Linked DNA regions of Homo sapiens: region 2 is linked to region 1. Evidence: promoter capture Hi-C in human tissues and cell types (Jung and others, 2019). All regions are on one chromosome and are shown on one strand. Each heading gives the region's core, a stretch centred on a gene start or on the middle of the fragment in contact. The rest is flanking DNA. Distances are from core to core; before and after follow the strand shown. Region 1 holds the start of OR2F1 (olfactory receptor family 2 subfamily F member 1). Region 2 has its middle 15 kb from the start of OR2A14.

Evidence for each region. Contacts are between HindIII fragments. The study calls those that stand out against the background at their distance.
Region 2: a contact is called between a fragment that was not itself captured here and the fragment with the promoter of OR2F1 in region 1, in 2 of the 25 tissues and cell types used here (liver and spleen).

What each region holds. Positions count from the first base shown.
Region 1 is chr7:143,952,520-143,958,238 of GRCh38, reverse strand. OR2F1 (olfactory receptor family 2 subfamily F member 1) reads right to left here and starts at 3,395. Exons shown (of 3, transcript NM_012369.3): 1 at 3,136-3,395. The HindIII fragment of the contact is 7,987 bases long and covers 1-5,085 here.
Region 2 is chr7:144,135,547-144,141,487 of GRCh38, reverse strand. No RefSeq gene overlaps it. Among named protein-coding and RNA genes, the nearest start is that of OR2A14, 15 kb to the right of the region's middle. The HindIII fragment of the contact is 6,882 bases long and covers 351-5,941 here.

The sequences.
Region 1 (5,719 bases), core at 2,146-4,645:
TGACTAGATTCCAGATTTGCATCTGAATTAGACATTTTTCCATTAACTTGGCAAACACCTATAAAGTGTCATCGTTGTTAGATGATGGATTTTTAGGGTGAATATTACCCTTAATTTTCACGGAGAGCTGACCTATCATGAGGGAAAAGACACAGTGATCTTCACCGTATCATTTGCTCCTCTGCCGCACTGGAGACCCTGCAAGCCCATGACTCACTGTGCTCCTCTCAGCCACCCAACATGTCTCTCCACTAAGTCCTTGTCACATTACAAATGAGTGACAGTGTCTCATCTCAGAGAAAGTGTGAACTTCAGAGTCTAACAGCTCCTGTTTTAGATACACATGTGTTTGTTCTGCTTCCTGAGACTTGGAGCAAGATACTTAGCTTCTCTAAGCCTCATTTTCTTCATGTGTGAAATGTGCCTGATATTGGCCAGCTGAAGGGTCCTTGATGAAATTAAAGGAATTGAAGGACTAAAGCTACAGAAGTGCCGAAACAGGCAGGTGTCCATTGTTTACTGATGATCCTTAGTCTTGACTTCATGCTCTCTTTCAGAATATTCTTTCTTCATTTACTCTCCCTCTCTACTATCCTCAGGTTCCTCTTGTTCCTGAGTAACTCCTTCTCCCTCATTATAAAAGAAAATATACAGGCATCTCAATTTAGGAAGCTTTACTGTGTATATAGCATTCTAAATACCCCTTCATTTCACATCTCTAATGATTGGAATCCATTGTCTGGATTTATTTCCTAATATTTATTCCTGAGACTGTAAACATTTCTACCCTCACTAATCTTTAGAATTTGAAAACTTAAAGGTTACTGATAACCTGCCATCATCAGTTCCAGAGATATTTTTATTCTATTTGCATTCTTTACTTAGCTTTTAACAATGTTACCTATTTGTTCCTTCAAACTCTCAACTCTGTCATGGACTTCTGTCCTGATTTTCCTCCAATCGAATTTGCCTTGTCACCATTCTTAACCTTCCTCCTTCTCCTGCTCTGCTGTATGAGCATTTGCTAAAGTTCTGTGCTCAGAACTTGTACTCAACTTCTACAGTTTTTCTTGGAAGTCTTTTTATTTCTAGCTATAATAATTACTATCAACTCTATATGGCTCACTCTCAATTTTACATTTACCTTCTAGATTTCTCTTCAAAGCTCCAAGTGTATTCCAGAAAAGCTGAATGAATGTTTCCTAAATATCTCACCAATGCCTGTACTCCTCTATCCACGAATGAAATTCCCTCCTGAGTTCTTTTTTACTATCGGCAGAATTAGATTTCTCCTACTCTCTCAATGAATCATCTTTTATTTTTCCCTCTTCTTCTGTATGCCACAGAATACATTCTCTTCCTTTATTATATATCTCCCCCATCTCCTCCTTACTCTCAGCCACACTTACCTTTTCCCTCTTTATTCCCATCTGCTAGAGTTGCCAGACCTTACTTGTAAATTTCCCTAATGTAACTTCCATTCACTCCCAAAATCCTACACTCTAACCTCCAAGTTAATTATATAAAATACAAATTTTTATGTCCTTTTTAAGCACAAAAAGATCTATAATGTCTAAGTGTGTAAAGATTTAAGTTTATCCTGGGCAGAATACTTTTCATCCAATCCATAATCTGCTCTTCTTCTATGACTAACTTTATTTTATTAACTATAGCATTTATTATCATGCCTTGTGTTTTCCAGCAGTCTTTTATTAAAATAGGCTGCTAATACTTAAATATCTTTCACTGATATGTTAACCCATCAAGTATGCTGTGTTTTTCCATGGCTATTGTGGGTTTCAAAATAATTAATATTCAAAAAATATATCTTGTTTCGAATGTTTATGGACTGATGTTAGACAAAGAAAATGTAAATATCATCTGCATTTGGAAAGCCAGTTGAAGGAGGAAATATGTATGAGCCAGATGATTTTAATGCACCTTCAGTTAAAACCATCTCCATATTATTCTGGGCTCACCTTCCAGCTAAATATAACTGGCTTTCTATTCTTATATCAAGGTGAATGGACTAGGTGTCAGGTAACATGCTTCATATCCAACCACTTCTATAGGAAGCCAGAGCTTGATCTTTACTGCTCTAATCTGTGGAATCTATACTTTCCCTACACCGGTGACATTCATTGAGGTCAACTAACTAAGGAAAAAATGTGAGAATATTTCTTCAATTTGTCTGTACAAACACAACTACCAAAACCTCTTAATACAAGCATGCAGCCAAGTTACAAAACCAGTATTGGACAATGAACACAGCTAATAGTCCTATTTAGCTCTTTGTGGTGTACAAGTGTGACTTTTGTGCTCTTCACAGTACTTGTCCAACACCAACAACATTACCTTTTTGCCAGGCATCTAATGTTGCTTTAGTAAGCAATAAAATTCTATTTTACATTCTTAGAGTTATATCATCTTCATACTCAACAAACATCAAATCAATTTTTTCTATATGTGTTCTGAGCTTTCTTTTGACCATTGAAAATAACCAATTCACGCTGCCTGCTCAGAACACAGTACTGAAAAATGGCATACCCTGTGGTTCACCTCCATAAACAGGATCACAATGAAAAAAGGAATTACTGCTTCCTGTGTTTTATGAATTGGGGTGAATGTAGGATAATCACTGTGACCATAAGAAATAGAAAACAATGTGTGATATAGTAAGACAGGTGCTATTGAAATATTCTGTGAATGATTATCTTTTTTAAAGCCCTGTCTCTAATTCCTGAAATGTATTACATTTATGTTGCACATTGTCCTTTTTTGTGAAATGTTTAAAAATGCAATAATGCTAAATGAAACTTTTATAATATAAAGTACCTAAACATTATCAACTGGTATAACAGCTTACACTGATCCTTTACATCACATAATAGTAAAAGCTGGAGTTTTAGATGTAAATAACCTGAAAATTACAGGAAAAAAATCAGAGAAGAGGTATGAATAGCAAAGCTCAAAATTTTCTAGATAAATATTACCTTTATTGGAATGGCTAAGTTAAGCTAATTAATATATGCATCACATCACATACATATTATTTTTGTAACAAGATTTCTTAAAATCTATGCCATAAATATATACAATTTTTATTTGTCAAACAAATAAATAAAACAAAATTACTTTTGTTGGACCCAGGTAAAATATCCTCCATGTGTCTTCTCTGTTTATCCAGTAATTATTAGTTACAGCAAATATCAGGACTGAAATATTCTTCTATCAACGACAAAGAAAGAACAAAAAAATAAGTGTTTAGATTCCTCACACAGTTCATTTTACATAACAAAAAAACTCTAATTTAACAGTTAAATTTCAATCAGTCAAGATCTCTCTTTAGTAAAGCAAATCAATTCATTGATTCCATGGAATCTATTTTCTTTATTATAAAAATTAAATCTAAATTGCAACAAATTAAATGTTCTTTTTCAACCTATCCTATCTCGGTAAATTCACCCATTACTCTTTTTCTTATTGTTTCAATCGACTACCATCTTATAATATCTTTGACTGAAAATATATGTCACCTGAAGAAGATGAAGAGTGAAAAATTCACAGAACCATGTTAGCAGATGTTCAAACCTGGACTAGCCTTTATCTGGATGGGGTAGATAAAATTGGGCTATATAGACGTTCCTGCCTTCCTTTCTCTGAATTTATATTCTAACCCCTTATCTATGAGCCAAAAAGCTCCATGCAAGTCTCTGTAGCTCTCTATATTCAGGCCTGCCTTCCAGCAGATGTGGCCCCTGTTCTAAAATTGCCTTTTCCTCTCCCCTTCTTAAAAAGAACACAGGGAAAGGCAAGATCTTAAGTGAAGTTAAATATCTTACTCATAGTAAATTCTTAGGCAGTGATATATGTTAATATTTGTTGTAAACATCTGGTATTTTGAAATTATGCAATCATTCCGCCAACTAGTCTGTTAGAATTTTATTTAACCCTGAAGAGTTGATCTCCGAGATGGGGGTGCCATCCATGCTCAGCTCCCTACAGCTCTGCAGAATGCTGAGAAGAAAGGGTACAGCCCCAAGCAACAATGACTTCTCCCCTAAAGTTCCTTTTCAGCCTTTTGCCACATCCTCCCCCTATTGCTGCTTTAATGAAATGAGAAGACGTTGGAGGAACCATGAGCCACTGTTCATCAAGTAAAAGATGAGAAGCCAGACCCATAGTTAAAGATCAATCAGGCATTGACAGAACTTATCACTGTGTTGGTGCCACGCAGACAGGATCATAATTTGTGGGGCTCTGGAAATGTCTTCACGTGCTGCTGTTCACATTTTTGTTTTATTATTTTTAATTGCATTTAAATTCCATTGCTACTCTGTGGACCAAGACTGAAATATATTCAATTTATTCTTGCAAGGAATCAAATGTCCAGGGCTTGACACCTAGGTATATTTTCCATTCGCAACATTGAGTTCCATGATTTGCTATCCTACCCCAGTCAGTGTATTATACATTTTAAAGTATCTAACATAATTTTCTACCTCTATTGACTGGCTGGCTTAAGACATTAACTTCTCCCTTTTCCTCCATATTAGGAAGAGGGAAGTGTTGACTTGGAAAGACTCAGGAGGTATGCACGCCAGAAAAGCATTCCTCAATGTCTCACATTCCAAAAATATATTTCTGAATATAATCCTTTCCAATATTTACATCAATTCAAAGAGTGCATGGTTAAATAAAACCTTGTAAGAGCCTTGTAAATTTATTCTGAGACATACTGAGGCTTCGGGGCATATTACCAATATTCTCTTATTCATTATAGTGATAATTCCCTAAAGCTAAGGACTAAAAAGCCAAAAACTTTCTCTCCAGAAAATGAGTACACCATGATTCTAATACTCCACTGAGTTTTAATCCTATTTGCCCTTCTTATTGGAGTCCTCTACAATCTTAGCTGAGGCAAATAGAGCTCTGAATACTCTGTATTCAACAGAGCACATGAAGGTTAAGTCCCACAAAAAAACATACGTTTTTCTTTCATGCTGCTCTAAATAAACCAGACACCTTCCTTTACAGACTTGGGCTGTCATTAGAAATGTTCATTTCATTTAGAGGAAGGTGCATCTGACCTGCGGTTGAGCACTTGGTTGTATACGCTGAATGCATCCATCATGGGCAGAAGTATTTCCATCATCCTAACATTTGGACACCCAGAACCCAAGTGCCACTGGGTGGGTGAGATCTCAAAGATGGTTTTAGATATCCTGAGAAGACAATTAGTCTTTCTTCTTTGAGACCTTGTTGTCTATTTCCTGTCTTGATTTGGTTGACTTTTCATATAATCTGAGTCCAATTATTAGACCCAGTGTCTCAAATATGGTGCAATCCTAAAATTCGCCTTTGCCGATATGTTTTATCATGGTTTCATTCTGTAAATGCTCATCTTCTTTATATCTCCTCTCTTCTATATCTAAGTCTAGGGTATTCTTTTGCACATAATTTCCTTAGTCTGGATAGTCTCAACAGTGACTATCAATAGTCTCAACTCTACAACACACTCTAGATTAACGAAGCCTGAGTCAGGGGCATCAACTGTAGTACCAGTTCATATTCTGAGAGCTGTAGACATCTATCAATTTATTTCATCATCTTACATTTAAAATTTCCATCATAGAAAGGAAAATTAAAATCAAAATACTCTTAGGGAAATAATTGAGAGAAAAGACATTAAAACAATTGACAATTTATCTGGAAATAT
Region 2 (5,941 bases), core at 2,542-5,041, 180 kb before region 1:
GACCTAACCCAAGATTATGCATTATATCTAAAGTCATCTGTCTTTAGTCTCCTGTACCTGTAATATTTACTCAGCCTTTTTGTGCCTTTCTGAACACTGATATTTTGAAGAGTTCTTTAGCATAATGTCCAACAAATTGAGAGTGTACAATATTCCTCAATGTTTTTGTTCAAATTATTCACTTTCTGCAGGAAAAATAGTATTCTCGTCTGTGTGTTCTGAGAAAGTATATGATATTAATTTGTCCTGTTATTGGGGTGAAGCTAACTTGGATCACTTGGTGAAGATGGTGCTTCCCAGATATCTCCATTATGTGATTTTTTTTTCCCTAATTAGTTTCTGGAGTACCCATTAAAATTATTATATATGTAGCTTGTTCCTCATAATGTCACTTCACTAGTTCCTTTCAGTCACTAGTTTTAGCATCTATTGATTATCTTGCCTAACTCAGTTATTAATAATGATTCAAAATGTGTTGTTCTGACTCTATAATTGCTTTTACATTTATTAGTTGGCAACTTTAGTATAAAAAATTCTTCATTCACTTACCTATCTATTATCTATCTGCTCTCTATCTGTTATCTATCATCTGTTATCTATCTGCTATCTGTCATCTATCTATCCATCAGTATAGACTCATGGATTTTTTTATTCAGTGGGTTGCTTCATTGTTGTCATTTTTTGGTGCTTAATTTTCCTATATCTAGGCCTTCTAAGCATGCTCCTCTGTCTTTTTAACATGTTCCCATAATATTTGAGCAGTTATTTCCTTCTGATATGACCAGATGTTTCAAGCTCCCTTTGTATACTCCCCACTTCAATCACAAAACAGCCATTTCCCCCAAAAGTTATAATCACTTTTAATAAAGAATTATATTTATAAGCCGATATTTATATTCATCTGGGTTTTATTGGATTTTTAATAATTTATATTTTATCATGATAATTTGTATTTTATCATGATTTTTATCATGAGGATAGCATGAATTTCTGGTATTCTACATTAAAAACAAGAGCATATAATTTGAGAAAGCATACAAATTATTATGGGGATAATACATTCTCAAGATTCTTCTGAAAATAATATAACTTAACTGACTTCCTTTATGGTGTTAGCATTGAAGAAAATGGTTTTGATATTTATTATTTTATTTTTGGTGAAAAATACATGTTTGTAATTCTACTACCTTATTAACCATCAGGTTTTATATTATTTTCCTGCTTTTATTCTTATTTAGAAATTTTAGAATCTTGAATATTTTAGATTTTGTGTGAACCCTTGTGTAAACAATGTGATACCTACTTTGTATGAGATTTTGACTTGAAGTTTTAAAAACCTAGAAAAACGTGAAACTCTAGTTAAAGGACTAAAGAGATGACATGTTGAAACATACAAACAAAAGTGATCATTTTAAATAATTGTGCAGTTATACTTTTCTACTGTTTATTTCATATATATCATTATTATAAAAATTATATGAAAAATGCTATTTGTTTAACTAGCTCTATCATATATCATGAACCATTTCCCATGTCAAAATATTTCTCTGAAACATAGTTTGAACAGCTATTATTCAATACAAATATTCTAATGGACTTAATGTATTATCTCATCATTAGATTGTGTGCTATATAATGCTTCAGTAATTAAATTATATATGTATATGTTTGTATTTGTTGTCTTTTTTCATGACATTTTTAATAGTAAATTCTGAGACTTAGAAGTGCTCAGTCAAGTCAATCAATTTATGTATTTATATATCTCTGTGTACTCATCTAAAAATCAAACAAGCAAAAATCCCAAATATATTAAGGTGTATCACTGTAAGATGCCTCCTAGTGGAAGAGGATGTCTAATTTATCAATCATGATGCTGTAATCTCAAATTAACCTTCTGCTACTCCCCAGGTTCCATGCGGTCCCATGTGAAAGAACCATCTTAACATTGCACTTCAGATTTCCCACCTAGACATCTTTCTACATATATTATTAAGCACAACAAATACAGATTTCTCATGTTTTATCTAATCTAGTGTTTCCTTCTCAATTTCAGTTTCTGCCTTGAGGGGAAGTCCTGCTTCATAGGTGAATGACATTGAGAATGAGTTAACACTTCATATATATTAAATAAAAGATAATATCTTTACTCACACAGAAATGACAAGTTAAAAAATAATTTAAAATAATCAATAACATAGCACTTAAAATGTTGTATAAATATAATTTCATTTTATCACACATGGCAAATGGCAAGGTTTCTATAAAGCAGACACACTCCCAGATAGTTATAAATCTCTTTCTATGATGGATATATTTTCAGTTTATACTTGTTACTGACTTTATTTTTTAGTGCATAAGAATGTAAGATGGATTCAGTAATAAAATTTTGAGAATTTTGACTATCCGTTTGGAGGATTTGAGGCATAGGTAAATGTAAATTCTCAGGCAGGCCTATATTTAAGTTGCAAAAGTCATATGAATCTTTCAAAAATACTAATGTCATTACTATGCTTATCCACTAGCCTCATTGTATAAGTGTGAAGGGGAATTGTAGTGGAATCATAGCCTCTTCTTGGAAGGATTTTCTTGCATGTTTACAACCAGTTACTATAAAAAGAAAGGAAGCAGCCTGCTTGAACTTGTCTAGGCCCCATTGAAAACCTACTTGATAGACGGCCTATAAAGAGAGTCTTTTCTATTCTAGCAAATTAGAGTAGAGGCACAAGGGTAGGCTCTTTAGGCACATATTAAAGGTATAGGCTTGGTCAATCATTACAGTTAAAAGAGTTATGTCCTCACTATGACGATATAGACAATTCTCAAGGTAAAATCAAAGATGAAGGGGCAAGGATATCAAATGTCATTTATTTGAATGGAGATATGCCTTCACCAGATAATGAATGGTAATATATCTTATACTTCTTCATCTCTTGTAATAAGTAGTATACTTGTAGATAAAAGTAGACACTCAGAAAATGCTTATTACTTAGGTGAATGACATTTTTAGTTAGTTATAGATTTAGTTATTTACGTATATGTATATTAAATATACTCTGTAACTATATGTATAAAATATATGGGATATATATAGTAAATGTATATAATATATATTTTTGTCTATTGGCCAGGACATGATTTATACTTTTTAAAAAAAGTATAATACTTAGATGAATGACATTTTTACTTATAGATTTAGTTATTCATGTATATGTATATTAAATATACTCTATAAACTATACATATATAACATATAGAATATATATGGTAAATATATATAATATATATTTTTGTCTATTGGCCAGGACATGATTTATACTTTTTAGAAAAAGTGTAAAAATAATTTATACTTTTTTAAAAAAGTGTAAAAATAATTTATACTTTTTTAAAAAAGTGTAAAAATAATTTATACTTTTTAAAAAAACATTACAGCTACAATTTGATTATTTGAAATGTCAAAATAATTAAAAACAGTATTTGCAAAGGATACATTCAAATTAGCATAATGGTAGGGACTATATTGCGTCTGTAGATAAAATGGCCCCACTTAAATGTACTGTATGTGTAGTGGATTGAATGGTGACCCCCAAAAGATATAGCCCTATCCTAATCCTCAGCACCTGTGAATATTGCCTTATTTTGAAAGAGGGTCTTTGCAGGTGTGATTAAGAATCTTAAGATAATCCTGAATTTTATGGATGAGCCCTAATTCCAATGACAACATTTCTTATGCAATAAAGGCAGAAGGAGATTTGAAACAAACTGCTGAAGGCACACAGAGGCAAGGTGATGCAACGACAGAGCAGACAGAGATGTGGCCAGACACTGAGGAATGCTGGAAGAGGGATGAAATATGTTCTCCTTTAGGTTTCCCAAAGGGAGCAAAATTTTACTAGATTCCAGATCTGTGAGAGAATGAATTTCTATTGTTTTATTCAACCACATTTGTGGTAATTTGTTACACAAGCTGTAAAAAACAAATATAGTATCATATACCTGCTTTGAATCAATGCTTGAGGACAATTTTAGAGTAATGGATTTTTGAAGCAAGTACTTCATATGGAGGTAAAATAACCTGAGAGGTAAGCTTGAAGATACATGTGTGAGCATTGTGAACTTTTGCAAACTAAGCCTAAGAGGGATCAGTCACATGGGCAGTGTTTCTTTGAGATCAATAACTCAATAAAACAGAAAGGCAAAATCACAAATTCTTAAATTTCTATAAATACATTGTATTTGAAGAGGGTTCTATATAAATATGCATTAAATTATTTTGTTACAATAAGATATATTCCTATAGTACGCCAAGTGGGGATAGTAACATCATATTGCAAAATCTTTATTAAACAGAGTTGGACATAATACTCATGTCTGAAACATATTTAATTTCTGAATATAAAGGATAACAATATTATTGAAGATAATTCAATCTATTGTTACCCAGTAGGAACATTCGTTTCTTGATATTTTAGTCTAGTTATTTTTTCTGGATTATAAATCTTTTTATTGTCATTACCCTTACCATTTGCTGTTGAAAAACAGACAAAATTAAAAAAAATAAAATTGCAGGCAGATTAACATCTTTAAGTGGCTAACACACTGGAATGGAGAACAAAATATCACAGTGATGATGCCTAAAATTTCACCTTTCCAATAGAATAAATAAAACAATAGCAGATCAGAAAATAAAAGGTTTTCTTGATCAGTATGAGCTATTTTCCACCCAGGCAGTCCTGCAACCCAGAATGTTTCTTCAGCTAGAGTGCTTTATTCTATTTCTCCAACTCTTAGTAGTAGTGATAGCCTGGGATAGTTCCCCCAAAGACATAATTCTATGACAGACTTACCTTTTAAACTCTTTCAGATAGAAAAAGATGTAATGTAACTGTGATAGATTTTTCGTTTCCATTGAGAAAGGTTTTCCTGGCCATGTATATCTTTATTTAGGCTGGGTAATGTATAGAGTCCTTGCATTAATTTGGCTATTTCAAAGCCTTATTCAGAGACCTGGATACAAAGCCCCTCCTTCTCTGAGCTCCTTCTCATTGAGACAATGGGGCTAGCTCTGACCTCCACCATCAAGGGACATTGGCAGGTGATGGTGCGAGAGATGCTGGGGGAGCCTTGGGACCCCTGTTCACAGCAGAGCAGGAAGACGTTCCCTGGGAGGAGGAGAGGGACATTGGTGTGTATTCCAACTACCTGCAATCTACACTTTGATTCAGGAGGGAAAGTCACCCAGGGATGTTGTTCTTCCAGCATAGCCATGGTGATTTCTGCAGTCATCCAGCTCTAGTTCAACTACCTATACAGGAAAACACCTCCCAGCAGAAATGAATGTCTTCTATATAAGGAGATGTTAGCACTAGACTTTTCCTCAGGATAATATTTTGACCTAGAATAAACCCTACAGAGATGAGACACATACCGCTAAAATGAATATAGACTCCTACTCCCTCTGGAAGCCTTCATAGGATTAAATCCCAGATACAGACAGATTCACTGGACTCACTGAAGTTTCTTTAGCTAACTCCAGGAGCATAGCTTTTATTTTAGAATCAGATGAATAAAAACATTCTTGAGTTTCTATTGAGAATTAAATTCCCAGGAGGATAATAATATATACTTATTTGTCTTCTCTCTAAGGAGTATAGGGAAGATCTCCGGATCTTCTCTCTGGAGGAGAACAAAGATTTTCTGATTGTCCTTACAGGAAAATTATCAGGACCAGGCAGGGCAGATGATGGCATCACACTATTTCTGCACAAGCTTTCACAGATCTCAAGGGTCATAAACATGAGGCAGACATCACAAATTACAATATCCAAACTCTTAAAATGATTATGGTTTTATTACTTTATACTTCCCTACAATCTCCATGAAGGTATAAGAGAGGCCGTGACTTTCAGATAGTTGAGAGGTGGTTTTCATGGAACCTGGTATG